Regions from separate parts of the Homo sapiens genome. Here regions 1 and 3 are each linked to region 2. Evidence: promoter capture Hi-C in 16 types of primary human blood cells and fetal thymus (Javierre and others, 2016). All regions are on one chromosome and are shown on one strand. The core of a region is centred on a gene start or on the middle of the fragment in contact, and the rest is flanking DNA. Distances in the headings are between cores, read along the strand shown. Region 1 overlaps NDUFS1 (NADH:ubiquinone oxidoreductase core subunit S1). Region 2 holds the start of FZD5 (frizzled class receptor 5). Region 3 overlaps FASTKD2 (FAST kinase domains 2).

Region 1 (4,369 bases), core at 120-2,619, 1.6 Mb after region 2:
TCAGTATTTCCAAATGGCTGTATAATATATAACCAGGATGTAGAGTTGCCAAGTAGCACATTAAAAGTGCTGACGCCCTGCCATTTTTAGTAGAGAAAAGGGTTGCAGGGAAGAAGTTCACTTTCAGTAGTTTAATTTCATTTTGGTGTATGCAATTTTTTTATTCAATAGTGCCTGCTAATCAAAGCAGTTATTTGGTGTTCTGTTTCAGAGCAGAATAAAAAATTGCATTGACTATTAGAATAAACCTAAAAACCAGGATGTTTTATTTCTGAGATAAATGCAAAGTACTAGATCATCGTATTATGAATATGAAAACTTAACAAAATTCAGTTTTAAAAAATACCCTATTCTTTGCCTGTTATCAAATGTATAATTTAATGTTTTTATATAATTTAACATTTTTATATATTGAGTTGCTTGTAATCACAAATAAATACAAATACACATTTTTTTTTTTCATTGAAATCCCAGGTTGTAGCTGCTTGTGCCATGCCAGTAATGAAGGGTTGGAATATCCTAACAAACTCAGAAAAATCCAAAAAAGCCAGGTACTTTATTGTTATTCAATGTAGTACCCTTTCATAAAGCAGAAAATTGCACATTTTGGTATTTAGACCTTCCCATAGATTAAGAATTTAATATCAAACTCGGAAGAAGTTGGTGTGCTCAGCTTCTAGGAGCAATAGAAGTGAGTACTACATAGTAGAGAAGGTGAAGTCAGGAGTTTATGGTATTGAGCTTTAGGATCAGCATTAAAAATCCTTCTTTAGTAACTTGCTCAACTTGTGAAGAAGGGTGAATCTGGACTTACTAAGCTACTACTATACTATACTGGGATTGATTGTGTTTGTTTTTATTTTGAATTAATGTGAATATTTTCTGAGGACCATTCAGCAACTTTTGATCATTCGGTATTGTTAAAAGTTACAATTTTCTTTATTTTTTGAAACGAGGTCTCACTATGTTGTCCAGGCTGGGCTTGAACTCCTGGCCTCAGGTGATCATCCTGCCTCAGCCTCCCTCCCATAGTTCTGGGATTACAGACGTGAGCCACCAAACCTGACCAAAAATCATAATTTTCTATGTTCTCTAATGATACTTTATTCTAGGCTCCTCTAAGCATTTTCCAGATTGTGTGTTTAATACTACCAGAATGATACTCGGGAGGATCACTTGAGCCCAGGAGCTCGAGTCCAGCCTGGGCAACATAGCAAGACCCCGTCTCTTAAAAAAAATATTACCACAATGATAGATAATTGGCATTTCTGATATTAAATGTAAAATTACTATTAATTGTATAACAAATATACATCTATGAAGGTTGTTTAAATGGCCTATATGTGGGCCTGGCACAGTGGCTCACGCCTGTAATTCTAGCACTTTGGGACGCCAGGGCGGGAGGATCACTTGAGGTCAGGAGTTCGAGACCAGCCTGACCAACATGATGAAACCCTGCCTCTACTAAAAATACAAAAATTAGCCAGGTGTGGTGGTGGGCATCTGTAATCCTAGATACTCGGGAGGCTGAGGCAAGAGAATCGCTTGAACCTGAGAGGTGGAGGCAGGAGGCTGCAGTGAGCCAAGATTGTGCCACTGCACTGCAGCCTGAGCAACAGAGCGAGACACCATCTCAAAAAAAAAAAATAAAGTCTATAGGTCATTTTGAGTGCCAGCAGTTAATGTCAGTGTGTGTGTATTTGAGAGTCATTTTATATGTTACAATTTTCATACAGGGAAGGTGTGATGGAGTTCTTATTAGCAAATCACCCATTGGACTGTCCTATTTGTGACCAGGGAGGTGAATGTGATCTGCAGGTATGTAGTAGAATTCTGTCAATCTTTTTGGTTGTCTCAGATTTTAATTTTATTAGCAGCATGAGATTGACTCTTTCATAATCTACTTAAGGACCAGTCCATGATGTTTGGAAATGATAGGAGCCGATTTTTAGAGGGGAAGCGTGCTGTGGAAGACAAGAACATTGGGCCATTGGTAAAGACCATCATGACAAGATGTATACAGTGTACTCGCTGCATCAGGTAACTTTTTTTCCTTTTTTTTCTATTATAGAATATAATTGTATACTTAATAGTCACAATTTGATGAATAATAACATTGGAAAGAATGGCTACTTTTTTTGGGTGGGAGAAGAGGGATGCTGTTTCTGATATATGAATAAAATAAGTTCACTTTCATTTAGTACCAACTTCAGGTGGATTTAAAAATTAAAATCTATAAGCATTTGCTTTCACTCATAACTTGGTGAGTTGTACACATATGATTTGTACAAGTTTCTGCCTGTGTGTTACACCTCAATTAAATGCAAACATTTCATTATTTTTTATTCTAGGACTGTGCTCACCTTTAAAAATATACTCATTTCTTTTTAGTGTTTGGAAAATCATCTCTTTGTGATCATGAATAAGAAAGGAAATAATTTTGCTGGACTTGACCATTGATGACACATTTTTTATCTTGTAGGTTTGCAAGTGAGATTGCAGGAGTAGATGATTTGGGAACAACAGGCAGAGGAAATGATATGCAAGTTGGCACATACATTGAAAAGATGTTCATGTCTGAACTGTCTGGGAATATCATTGATATCTGCCCTGTAGGTGCCCTAACCTCTAAGCCCTATGCCTTTACTGCCCGGCCTTGGGAAACAAGGTATCTTTTATTTTATGACAATTTGTTTTTTTGTCCTTAATTCATTACTATTCAAAAAAATATTAAGGTTCATTTTCTTCCTGGGTTTCAGTTGTTTTGGTCTGTTGACTTTGTTTGTTTATGTAAAACCCTTTAAATAGAAGGTAAGTAGTTAGAATGGATTGAACCTGTGCAAATTAACTGTAGTTTTCTTGGAAATTAATTCTAAAGTACTCAACCACAAAATTATTTTTTTCATGTGTTCTTCCAAAGAGTTTAATAGTGTTGACATTTTAAATGTATAGTCTCCCATGTTGTTGTTTATTAAGTTTTCAACTATGAGGAATGTCATTTAGCCAGTTTCTGCTAATAGACATTTAGCTTGTATATTTCTTTATGATTACAAATCTGTAAAAAATATTGCTGTTTACACATTTCTGTGTATATCTCTCATTCTCCTGATTAAACCAAGAAATGGAGTAGATAGATGCAAGAGGTGTGATTATTTTTAAGGTTCTTAAAACATAACAAATTATCATCCAATTTTAAACTTTATACTTTTCAACTTGGGATTTGGCTTTTTGTTTCTGTGTAATTTCTGTGTCCTTACTGAGAATCTCTACTTGCTGATTCGTGGTTGTCATACATCCCCTTCAATTTTTAAATATGATTTTCTTTGGTTCTTTCAACATATTTTAATATTCTTGGTTTTATTTTTAAGTGAGGCTTCTTAGGAGTTCCCCTGTGTCTGCATAGTTTAGTAGTCAGGTATAATTGTACTTCAAACACCGTGACCTAATAAGAGTTATGTTCTTTGCCAATGGATCTGTTTGTGGATGGAGGAGCATATTCAAAGTTGAGGCTGTTTTCAAGTTTGCCCAGCTATTACTTTGCACTGGGCCCTTTGGGTCTCAGAGTTATCCAGGAGTTTATGAATAGGTTGAGCTTTCTCTGGTTTCACCTGCACATGTAGCAGCCTCTGTTAGGAATGCTTGCCGCAATTACCACTACAAACTTAGGCTGGTAAAATCTTGGCTATCCTCAGCTACGATGACCTCCAAAGTATCACCTCCACAAACAAGTTTGCCTCGTGCTCCAAGTTAAGTGAGTTGTCTCCATCTGTACCAAAGAAGTTCTCATCTTCACAGCCTGCCCCGGCCTCGAAGAAATTCCATTTTGAGGGGGTGGAGAGGAGCATAGGAGGAGCACTGAGCCCAGCCACCAGTTTTTCAGTGCATAAAAGCTTCCCACATTGTATGTGTTTAGATTTCTAAACTGCTGAAATGGTGGGTTTTGTCATTTTTGGCCAGCTTTACTTTTGCTTTTCAGTGGGAAGGTTTTTTGAGCTCCTTAATCTCCCATAGACAGAAATCCTGCCCCTCTTGTTGAATCGTCCCAGATTTGGCTAGTTGGAGCCCCTTCAAACTAGCTTCTGTGTCAGATAATAGTTTTAAAGCCTTCCTTACTGTGCCAGGAATTTATGTGTTCAAATGTGGGTGTGCCGGGAGCAGTGGCTCACACCTATAATCCCAGCTTTTAGGAGGCCAAGGTGGGAGGATTGCTTGAGACCAGTAGTTCAAGACCAGCCTGGTCAGCATAATGAGACACCGGCTCTACAAAAAATTTTTAAAATGTGGTGAGAGGATAGTTTGAGCCCAGGAGTTCTAGGCTGCAGTGAATTATGATCATGCCACTGTAGCCTGGGCAACAGAGTGAGACCCC
Region 2 (4,829 bases), core at 2,330-4,829:
AGAGATGAGGTCTCACTATATTGCCAAGGCTCGTCTTGAACTCCTGGGCCCTAGTGATCTTCCTGCCTCAGCTTCCCAAAGCGTTGAAATTACTGGCATGAGCCACCTTGCCCAGCTGAAATAAGTTTCTTTCCATAAAGTTCTCTGCTATCACTATTATTATTAGAGATCTCCAAGTAAAATTAAGATTTTGCTGTTGATGAAGAAAAGGTTTACAAACCAGTAGATAACATTGTTTTCTTCAGAACCTTTACTGGAAAAGGGTCCTGATTCAGACCCCAAGAGAGGGTTTTTGGATCTCATGCAAGAAAGAATTCCGGGCGAATCCATAGAGTAAAGTGAAAGCAAGTTTGGTAAGAAAGGGCCGAGCGAGGTGGTTCATGCTTGTAATCCAGCACCTTGAGAGTCCGACCGAGGCGGGCGGATCACTTGAGGCCAGGAGTTCCAGACCAGCCTGGTGAACATGGCGAAACCCCGACTCTACTAAAAATGCAAAAAATAGCAGGGTGTTGTGGCGTAGGCCTGTAATCCCAGCTTCCTGGGAGGCTGAGGCACAAGAATTGCTTGAACCTAGGAGGCAGAGGTTGCAGTGAGACGAGCTTGCACCCCCACTGCACTCCAGCCTGGGCGTCAGAGCAAGACTGTCAAAAAAAAAAAAAAAAAAAAAAAAAAAGAAGGAAAGGAATAAAGAATGGCTACTCCATAGACAGAGCAGCGGCATGGGCCGCCGGTTGCCCATTTTTATGGTTATTTCTTGATCATATGCTAAACAAAGGGTGGATTATTCATGAGTTTCCGGGAAAGGGGCGGGCAATTCCCGGAACTGAGGGTTCCTCCCCCTCTTAGACCATACAGGGTAACTTCCTGACGGTTGCCATGGCATCTGTAAAATGTAAACTGCTTTGGCATTGGTGGGAGTGTCTTTTAGCATGCTAATGTATTATAATTAAGTTACAATAAGCAGTGAGGACGACCAGAGGTCACTCTCCTGGCCATCTTGGTTTTGCTGGGTTTTTGCCGGCTTCTTTACTGCGCCCTGTTTTATCAGCAAGGTCTTTATGGCCTGTATCTTGTGCTGACCTCCTATCTCACCCTGTTGACTTAGAATGTCTTCACCTCCTGGGAATGCAGCCCAGTAGGTCTCAGCCTTATTTTACCCAGTCCCTATCCAAGATGGAGTCGCTCTGGTTCAAATGCCTCTGACAGAACCGTGTGAAATAACACAAATATTCTGGCTAAATTCCAGTGTGAGTGATTAACATTCTCCAACTTCAAATAATTTTTATTATTAGCCAACACTTGTCCATCCCCAGTAATACACACGTTGCATAAAGAGCACAGAATGAGATGGGCCTCCCTTGGCATGTTCATAGTCTGCACATACTTTCCACTGAGGGCTTCCCTTTCTTGCTCACTGCTATGCCCACAGCTTTTCAACTCCCACTATTTTCAACCCTGGGATGCTTCCTGACCCAGAGTGGCAAGTAATTCCAAAACACAAGAGATAAAATATGAACACCTGTAGAATTCCAGAGAAAGAAAGATGTAAGGTATATTTATTCATTTATTTAATTATGTATTTTAGAGTTGGGGGTCTTGCTATGTTGCTCAGGCTGGTCTGCAAACTCCTGGGTTCAAGCCATCCTCCCACCTCAGCCTCCCAAAGTGTTAGGATTACAGGCGTGAGCTATGGCGCCCGGCCTTTTAAACGTTTATTAATAGTTTTGATATCCGCGAAGTGATTGATATTTGTTCCTTTTTAACTTGGAGGCTGGGATTAACACACGTGTTCTTCATTATTGCCCACAAAGCGTTGTTGATACGCAGGAGGGGAGTGGCACTTCCGCAATTTATTCTTCCAACCTGTGCCAATGGGATCCAGCACAGGAGATGGACAGTAACCCGCGGTTGATCTGGATCTAGTCCAGTTAGTCCAGTCCCTATCCCTTCAAGTGTCCCCAGGCCCTCTTGCCTATTTTCGCCCTTTGCCCAGTGGAAGGAAAAGTTTGGGGAGAAGGAAAAAATTTAAACCCTCTTCCTAGGCGTGTGAATGTATTTCAAGTATGCTAAATACCTCAGTCTTCCAATCTAATTACAACACATAGAAAAGAGGCATTTTTAGGACATTTAAAACTTGTAGCATAATTGCGCAACTGAAGAGCGCCGCCGTGTCCCCGCCATCGGTGCGCCCTCCGACCCCCCGCGGCGCGCAAGTGCGCGGCTTAGCAGCAGGCAGCCGGGGACGGAAGGGCACGGGGAGGCCGGCGCCCTGCCCAGCACAGAACCCTGGGTCGGTATCGCTTCTCTCTGCGGGCGACTTCGGAACTGCCTGGGATTATAAACCTCGACCAATAAAGGACTCACATCTTTCTGGGTCTTCTAAAGGCAGAAAGAAATCCATTTTCTTGTCACAACAAGATTTTGTTAAGAGATGCAAAAGTAAAGGTCGAAGCCAGGGAGGCTGCGATAGTATGGGGGGAGGGGCGGCTACGATGGTGAGTGCCGCTGACCAACTACCTGGGTTCGAATCCCAGGGTTGCCATTTGGGCGGCTACTATGTGCCAGGTGATCGGAATACGGAGGTGAACTTGCTTGCCGAGGTCGCCCTTTCTTGGGGGAACTATGATTAGCTCGGTTGCCTTGGCCAAGTCTCAGTCTCGGTTTCTTCACCTGTAGGAAGTACCTGCCTCAGAATTGTTGTAAGGAGTGAGATCTTGTCTTAAGATGTAAACGGGCCGGGCGCGGTGGCTCACACCTGTAATCCCAGCATTTTGGGAGGCCGAGGCGGGCAGATCACGGTGTCAGGAGTTCGAGAACAGCCTTACATGGTGAAAGCCCGTCTCTACCAAAAATACAAAAATTAGCTGGGCGTGGTGGCGGGCGCCAGTAATCCCAGCTACGCAGGAGGCTGAGGCAGGATAATCGCTTGAACCCGGGAGACAGAGGTTGCAGTGAGCCGAGATCGCGCCACTGCACTCCAGCCTGGGAGACAGAACAACTCGTCTCAAAAAAAAAAAAAAAAAAAAAGGATGTAACCGATTAACACTTTGTTGGGCACACAGTAAAGGGCTCAGTAAGTATCCTCTCTTCTTTCACACAGTTCCAAGACAGCTCGGAAGGGAGACAGCCACGCCTAAGAGTGATTCCTTGAGCAGTTCTTTCAAAGAAGCACTGAACTCTGTAAGGACGCTTAGCTGCAGGCAGAAAGGGCAGGGGCCCTGGGAGCAAAGGTGCATAAGCCAGGAAGTTACAGGAGCGAGTCCTGCACCCAGGGCGCGGGCAGAGAACTCCGGAGGGACTTCTGGCAAGGGCTTCCCGCCCGGGTGCCCAGAGCGGCATGATTAGCATTCGCCCCGCCCCCATCTCCTCCAGGCCCGCGATTGGTCAGCGCTCCTTGGCTGCCCGCTCCTGGCGGGGCCAGAGGGCGCCGGGGGAAAGGCCGAGCCCGCGGGGCAGTGGGCGGGGACGCGCGGAGAGCTTGGCGAGGCGGCCCACCAACCGCGCCCGGGCCTGAGGGGGCGGAGCCGGGGCGGGGCTTCCCGGCGGGCATTAGAAGCAGGTGACCCGGGCGGGGCGGGAGAGGGCAGCCAGCCTGCGGCCGTGAGTCCGCTGTGGTCGCCGCCGCGCGCGGTTCCGTGCTCGCCAGAGGTGGGCGAAAGGGTGCGAGAGCGCGGGGGAGGAGCCGAGCAGGGCACGTCCCGAGAGCGTCGCCACCGCCCCCAGGAGTCCACTGGAGCGCGGAGCCCCCTGCAGGGGAGGAGGCGAGCGGCGGGCGGGACGCGGCGGCCGGCGCTCACCATGCAGTCCCGGCCTGGCCAGCGCCGGCTGCTCGCGGTGCTGTGAGGCGGCGGGGTCCCACGGCCCCCGCCTCCCGCCTTCCTCCCGCCCAGGTGCTGCCAGGCGCGCTCGCCCTCCGTCCGGCTCCCGGCCCCGGGGAGAACGCACGGCCTGCCCCTGCCCGGCTCCGTCTGGATCATGCGGGGGGCTCCCGAGGAGGAGAGGGCGAGTGACCGGCCTGCGCCGCCCCTGTTCTGGGGGCGCCCCCCACTCTGAGTCGCCCCCACCTGCTGCCATGTGCCGCTGCCACGGGTACCCAGCCTGTCGCTAAACTTTCCGGGCGCCAGCCCGGCTCTGAGTCGCGCTTCTCAGCGGAGTGACCCAGGGACGGAGGACCCAGGCTGGCTGGGGACTGTCTGCTCTTCTCGGCGGGATCCGTGGAGGTGAGAACCTTCCCTTTCTCCCTGTTCTTCTCCCGTTTCCTGTGCCCTTTTCCGGGAAGCTGAGGGTTCTGGTCTCCGGGCACTGCCTGAAGGGCCCAGCTTGGAAAGAGAGGGTGGGGGAGTCGGTAGTTTGGTTACAGGAGGCGGAGCGGGGAGGAAAGGAAAGGGGTTAACTTAAGAGATTTGGAGACAGCTCGCGGGGACCGAACTGTTGACGCCTCTCCAACAGGGAGTGGTTGCAATCTTTCTTCTCCCCCTTCTTTTTTAAAGAGTCCTTTCCCTGGAATCCGAGCCCTAACCGTCTCTCCCCAGCCCTATCCGGCGAGGAGCGGAGCGCTGCCAGCGGAGGCAGCGCCTTCCCGAAGCAGTTTATCTTTGGACGGTTTTCTTTAAAGGAAAAAGCAACCAACAGGTTGCCAGCCCCGGCGCCACACACGAGACGCCGGAGGGAGAAGCCCCGGCCCGGATTCCTCTGCCTGTGTGCGTCCCTCGCGGGCTGCTGGAGGCGAGGGGAGGGAGGGGGCGATGGCTCGGCCTGACCCATCCGCGCCGCCCTCGCTGTTGCTGCTGCTCCTAGCGCAGCTGGTGGGCCGGGCGGCCGCCGCGTCC
Region 3 (4,509 bases), core at 1,427-3,926, 1.0 Mb after region 2:
GTGTGAGCCACCATGTCTGGCCTAAACATTTATTTTTAAACAAAAAGGATGAAGTTTGGGTAATATGACCCAGACAGATAAATAAATATACATGTATATATATACAGATAAATAAATATAAGGGTACTTCTATTCATTCACTTTAGTGAAGCTAAACCTAAAAGCCCAGCAATGTCCTCCTAGAAAATTGACTTCAGGCAGTGATAGCAGGTTATAAGAAAGATTTTTTCAAATCTCATCCACTAGAGAAAATTCATGTGTTTACCTCCAGTTTCCTCTTAAGAGCAATCGGTGCATCTTTTCCAATACACTTCATCACAACTTGTAATGTGAAGACATCTTCTATTTTCCAAACTTGCTGATCAACTAGTATTCTGTTATCAAACACAATAAATATTAAAATCATAGAATCTTCAAAGCAGAAGAAAAATCTTAAAATTTCATTTGGTCCAGCCCCTTCTTACAGGCAAGGATTATGAAGCCCAGAGAAATGATCTACCTGCTTGAGAGAGTGTAAGTAGTTAAAGATCGAGACCCAATCTATTAATAGTGCTATTTTCTCTCACATTATTGTGCTGTCTTTACTAAAGAACAAATTATGTCAGGAGATTATAGTAACATATCCTATGCATAGTCAATGTCAAAGGGAGTTAAGTTTTACTCTCACTAATCTATGACATTAGATCATTTATATCAATTTTATAAATCCCTTTTCAAGCTGGGTCAACGTCAACCCTCACATAGTCCCCGAATAACTATTCTGAATTAAATATACATATCAATTCTCTCCTACCCCGCATCAGTACTATTTTTTTTTTTTTTTTTTGAGACAGAGTCTCGCTCTGTTGCCCAGGCTGGAGTGCAGTGGCGCGATCTCAGCTCACTGCAAGCTCTGCCTCCTGGGTTCACGCCATTCTCCTGCCTCAGCCTCCCAAGCAGCTGGGACTACAGGCACCCACCACCACACCCGGCTAATTTTTGTATTTTTAGTAGAGACGGGCTTTCACCATGGTCTCGATCTCCCGACCTCGTGATCCGCCTGCCTCGGCCTCCCAAAGTGCTGGGATTACAGGCATGAGTCACTGCGCCTGGCCAGTACTATGTTTTAAAATAAATTAATTTAGATTTCAATGTTACTCACATCTTTGTTATTATGGACCCTAAGAGAAGTATTTCCAGCCTATGTCATCCAGAGTCAGGATTTTAAGCTTAATAAGGTATGAAAGACTGTAACTACCAACAAAGCCTCCCCAACCCCTCCTCCCCTCAAGAAAGGAGTTTAGTTTTCATCTCAATTTTTTTATTCCAGATATATGAGGAACAAAGAAAACCACATGAAGAAAGCATAAGAGAGTTCTCACCTGAATCCCGTTCGTAGAACATGAACATTCTTGCATGGTTCCATTGCCTCTAAAACAGTTGACAAAACTGAAAGGCATATCTCATCACACTCATTGATACGTTCCTATTGAAATATAATTACAAAAACACTACAGGTGATGAGCCCATAGTAAACTATCTTACCCAAGCAAAACCACTGAACTGATGTACTGAATAAAACGATTGAGTATCAAACCAACAATTCCTACAGTCAGTCCACAATAAACAGCATCTTTGGGAAATAAAAAGTCATACTTACTGAATTTTCCAGCTGACTGATACACATCCTTTTATGCATCAACACTTTTTTACCTTCACCATTATCACTGAAAACACATTTGATATTTATTATATTCCACTGCTTCTGAAACAACTTTTATTAAACATTATTTTTACCTCTTCTTGGAATTCAAGGTCATTACAAAGGCAAAAACAGTTAAAGTGCAGGAATATAAGAACTACTGAAGTACAGAAGGTAACTAGCCCATCTCTAAAGATCCTTAAATGGTTGTGCCTTTACAATTTCCCTAGATCCTTTCCTGGGTATCAAGCTGAAACTTTACTTGTGAGTCTTCTGATTCACATCTCCTGCCACATTCTACCACTGCTATCTGGGTCTCAAGGGAAGCCTACACCCCACAGATTCTTCTTTCAGGTCCCTTTACTTAGGGTACTAAGTTTGATTCCAGAAATAGTGGGCATAATCTGGAAAGTGAATAGTAACAACACAGCTTAACTAGCAGTACTCTACAGTTTAATCACTAGTCTATAAACCTCACAAAAAATCACATCTGAGGAAACTTAGCCTGAAGAGAGAGAAGCTCTTTTGCTAAAATTACATAACCAATGAATCACAAAGTCTTAAGTCAGAACCAGGTAATAATAAGAAATGGTTATGGTTAGAAGAAAAAAAAGGTTTCTTTCCTATGAAAGGGTTTCCTTAACAATTTTACAGCATTCCATCCATATCTACTATGAAAGAAAAGACCACTTGTCTATGTGTTTGAAGGGCAAATTCATTGATGGCACACTGTCCTTTCACCTCTAAAATGTCTTTACATTATTCCAACAGGTCAGTGAGACACCATCATCCATACAGATGTTTTGACTACAAAAATCTACTACTCATACCTCACCAACACAGATGTCATCCCGATGCAAATATCTGTCCAAAATCTAGTAAGAGCATCACTGACCAGGTAAGGTGATTTATTAGTCACTTTTAAATAACTACATAGGAACTAATACACAGCCTACAAATAAACAGGGATATTCTGTGGTTTAAACAAATACACACACATACACTAAATAAAAATTAGTTATTCCTTAAGGACATATGGAAATCACAGTAATGTAAAAAGTTAAAAACTTTCCCATAGCTATGAACCCAATTATTGAATTCTATAGCAAGACAGGATATATGCCAGATTATCCCCAAGGAATTCCTGTCTTTTAAAAAATTATTATTATTATTTTCAGACAGGGTCTGGCTCTGTCACCCAGGCTGGAGTGCAGTGGCACGATCATGGCTCACGGCAGCTTCGACCTCCCAGGCTCAAGTGATATTCCCACCTCAGCCTCCCAAGTAGCTGGGACCACAGGCAAGTACATCACACCCAGCTAATTTTTGTATTTTTTGTAGAGATGGAGTCTCCCTTTGTTGCCCAGGCTGGTCGCAAACTCCTGGGCTCAAGAGATCCTCCTGCCTTGGCCTCCCAAAGTGCTGGGATTACAGGTGTGAGCCACCACACCTGGCTAAGAAATTACTTCATTATCACTGAGTTTATACGTCAGAAGTGTACACTCTTAAAACATAAATGATTAACAAGCTAATCCTTCCTTCCTTACATTTGGCACCATTTCAGTGACATTAAACAGGACACTGACATTCTTGCTTTAGACTAAAAATGGCTCCCTCCATCCAATTTTAACCTTCTTCCAATACATCTTCCACTCATTCAGTGATCTAAAATACAAATTTGAGCACGTCAACCCATTGCTTAAAATTCTTCAACGGATTCCCATTGCCTACAGGATAAATGCATACTCCTTAGCTAGCCGTAAGAGGCTCTTTATGATTTGGTTCCTATTTTTCTGGCCTCTTGTTCTGCCCCTAAGCCTCTTGCCCCTCACTCCTCTCCTTTGATCGCCATGTACAAAACTTGTTCCCACCCACTCAAACATACAACTCCATCATTCTGTGCTTCAGCTACACCAAACTACTTTCAGCTCTTCAAATTTGCCAAACTTTTCCTCTGGGAACAGTAGGGCATGCAATCCTCTCTACTTGAAACACCATCCCCTTCACTATCATTCTGCTCATCAGTTTAGGTATCATCTACTGGGCCTGAATTCCAATTCTACCATGGACTAAATTCTCTTCCTTCCCCTTCCCTTCTCTCCTTCTTCAACTACCCAGGCTTTCTTTGTATATCTTGCATCTCTCCTCACTTTAGCTTCTTCACCACTACTCAACCCTGGGGATGGTAAATGTGGAAGGCTTTCATAAATTTCCATAGCAAAAGGAAGAAAATAGCTAACTTAAGGCCTCTAAATCATATAATATATATGCAGAAATAAATATAAAGGAAACTACCATTCCATTTGATAGTCTCTTTTAAGAAGGCTACATATCTATATCCCTTCATTCTTTCAAAATATTCTAAATCAAGTAAATGCATGTTTAAATCTCCTTTTTATTTTACCTGGGTCACCCTCAGCAAAGTCTGCACCAAAATAGTGTTCTGAGGGATTCCAAGCTTCACTATGGCGTGAAGACTGAACAGTAGGTACTTATACTGCATGATCTTGGCTTCTCTCATCATATGTTCACAGAGCTGATTAAATGCAGGGTGGCTAAACATCAGTCGTTTTTCAAAGCGCTTCTGGTCATCAGACAGTCTTTTGGCAATTGTCCACATTGCTGTGAAATAGTTGCTACTAGGAAATGTGGGCGCTTTTGAAAATGCATCTAACACATCACTCAGGGAATTACATTCCTCAGACAGTTTTCTACTGCTGATACGGTTTGGTTTTGTTTCCTTGGTAAGAACATCTTCATTGGAGACTTCATGATTAAGGTTTACTTTCTTCAATTCATCATCAGATTTATCAACAGGGACAAGAGAC

The links. The method cuts DNA at HindIII sites, captures the fragments that hold promoters and counts their contacts. A CHiCAGO score of 5 or more calls a contact.
Region 1: a fragment that was not itself captured here is called in contact with the fragment with the promoter of FZD5 in region 2 in 1 of 17 cell types (neutrophils); the score reaches 6.5 in neutrophils.
Region 3: a fragment that was not itself captured here is called in contact with the fragment with the promoter of FZD5 in region 2 in 1 of 17 cell types (naive B cells); the score reaches 5.9 in naive B cells.

What each region holds. Positions count from the first base shown.
Region 1 is chr2:206,145,202-206,149,570 of GRCh38, reverse strand. NDUFS1 (NADH:ubiquinone oxidoreductase core subunit S1) reads left to right here. Exons shown (of 19, transcript NM_005006.7): 5 at 475-551; 6 at 1,737-1,818; 7 at 1,910-2,040; 8 at 2,483-2,668. Among named protein-coding and RNA genes, the nearest start is that of NDUFS1, 12 kb to the left of the region's middle. The HindIII fragment of the contact is 5,047 bases long and covers 1-3,892 here.
Region 2 is chr2:207,768,656-207,773,484 of GRCh38, reverse strand. It overlaps FZD5 (frizzled class receptor 5), which reads left to right and starts at 3,579. Exons shown (of 2, transcript NM_003468.4): 1 at 3,579-4,220; 2 at 4,491-4,829. The coding sequence starts at 4,746. RefSeq lists silencers at 747-1,222, 3,279-3,958, 4,299-4,358, 4,769-4,828 and enhancers at 1,694-2,514, 2,679-2,728. The HindIII fragment of the contact is 9,976 bases long and covers 1-4,829 here.
Region 3 is chr2:206,767,047-206,771,555 of GRCh38, reverse strand. It overlaps FASTKD2 (FAST kinase domains 2), which reads right to left. Exons shown (of 12, transcript NM_001136193.2): 2 at 4,086-4,509; 3 at 1,362-1,465; 4 at 266-374. Among named protein-coding and RNA genes, the nearest start is that of FASTKD2, 3.7 kb to the right of the region's middle. RefSeq lists an enhancer at 658-1,857. The HindIII fragment of the contact is 2,931 bases long and covers 1,211-4,141 here.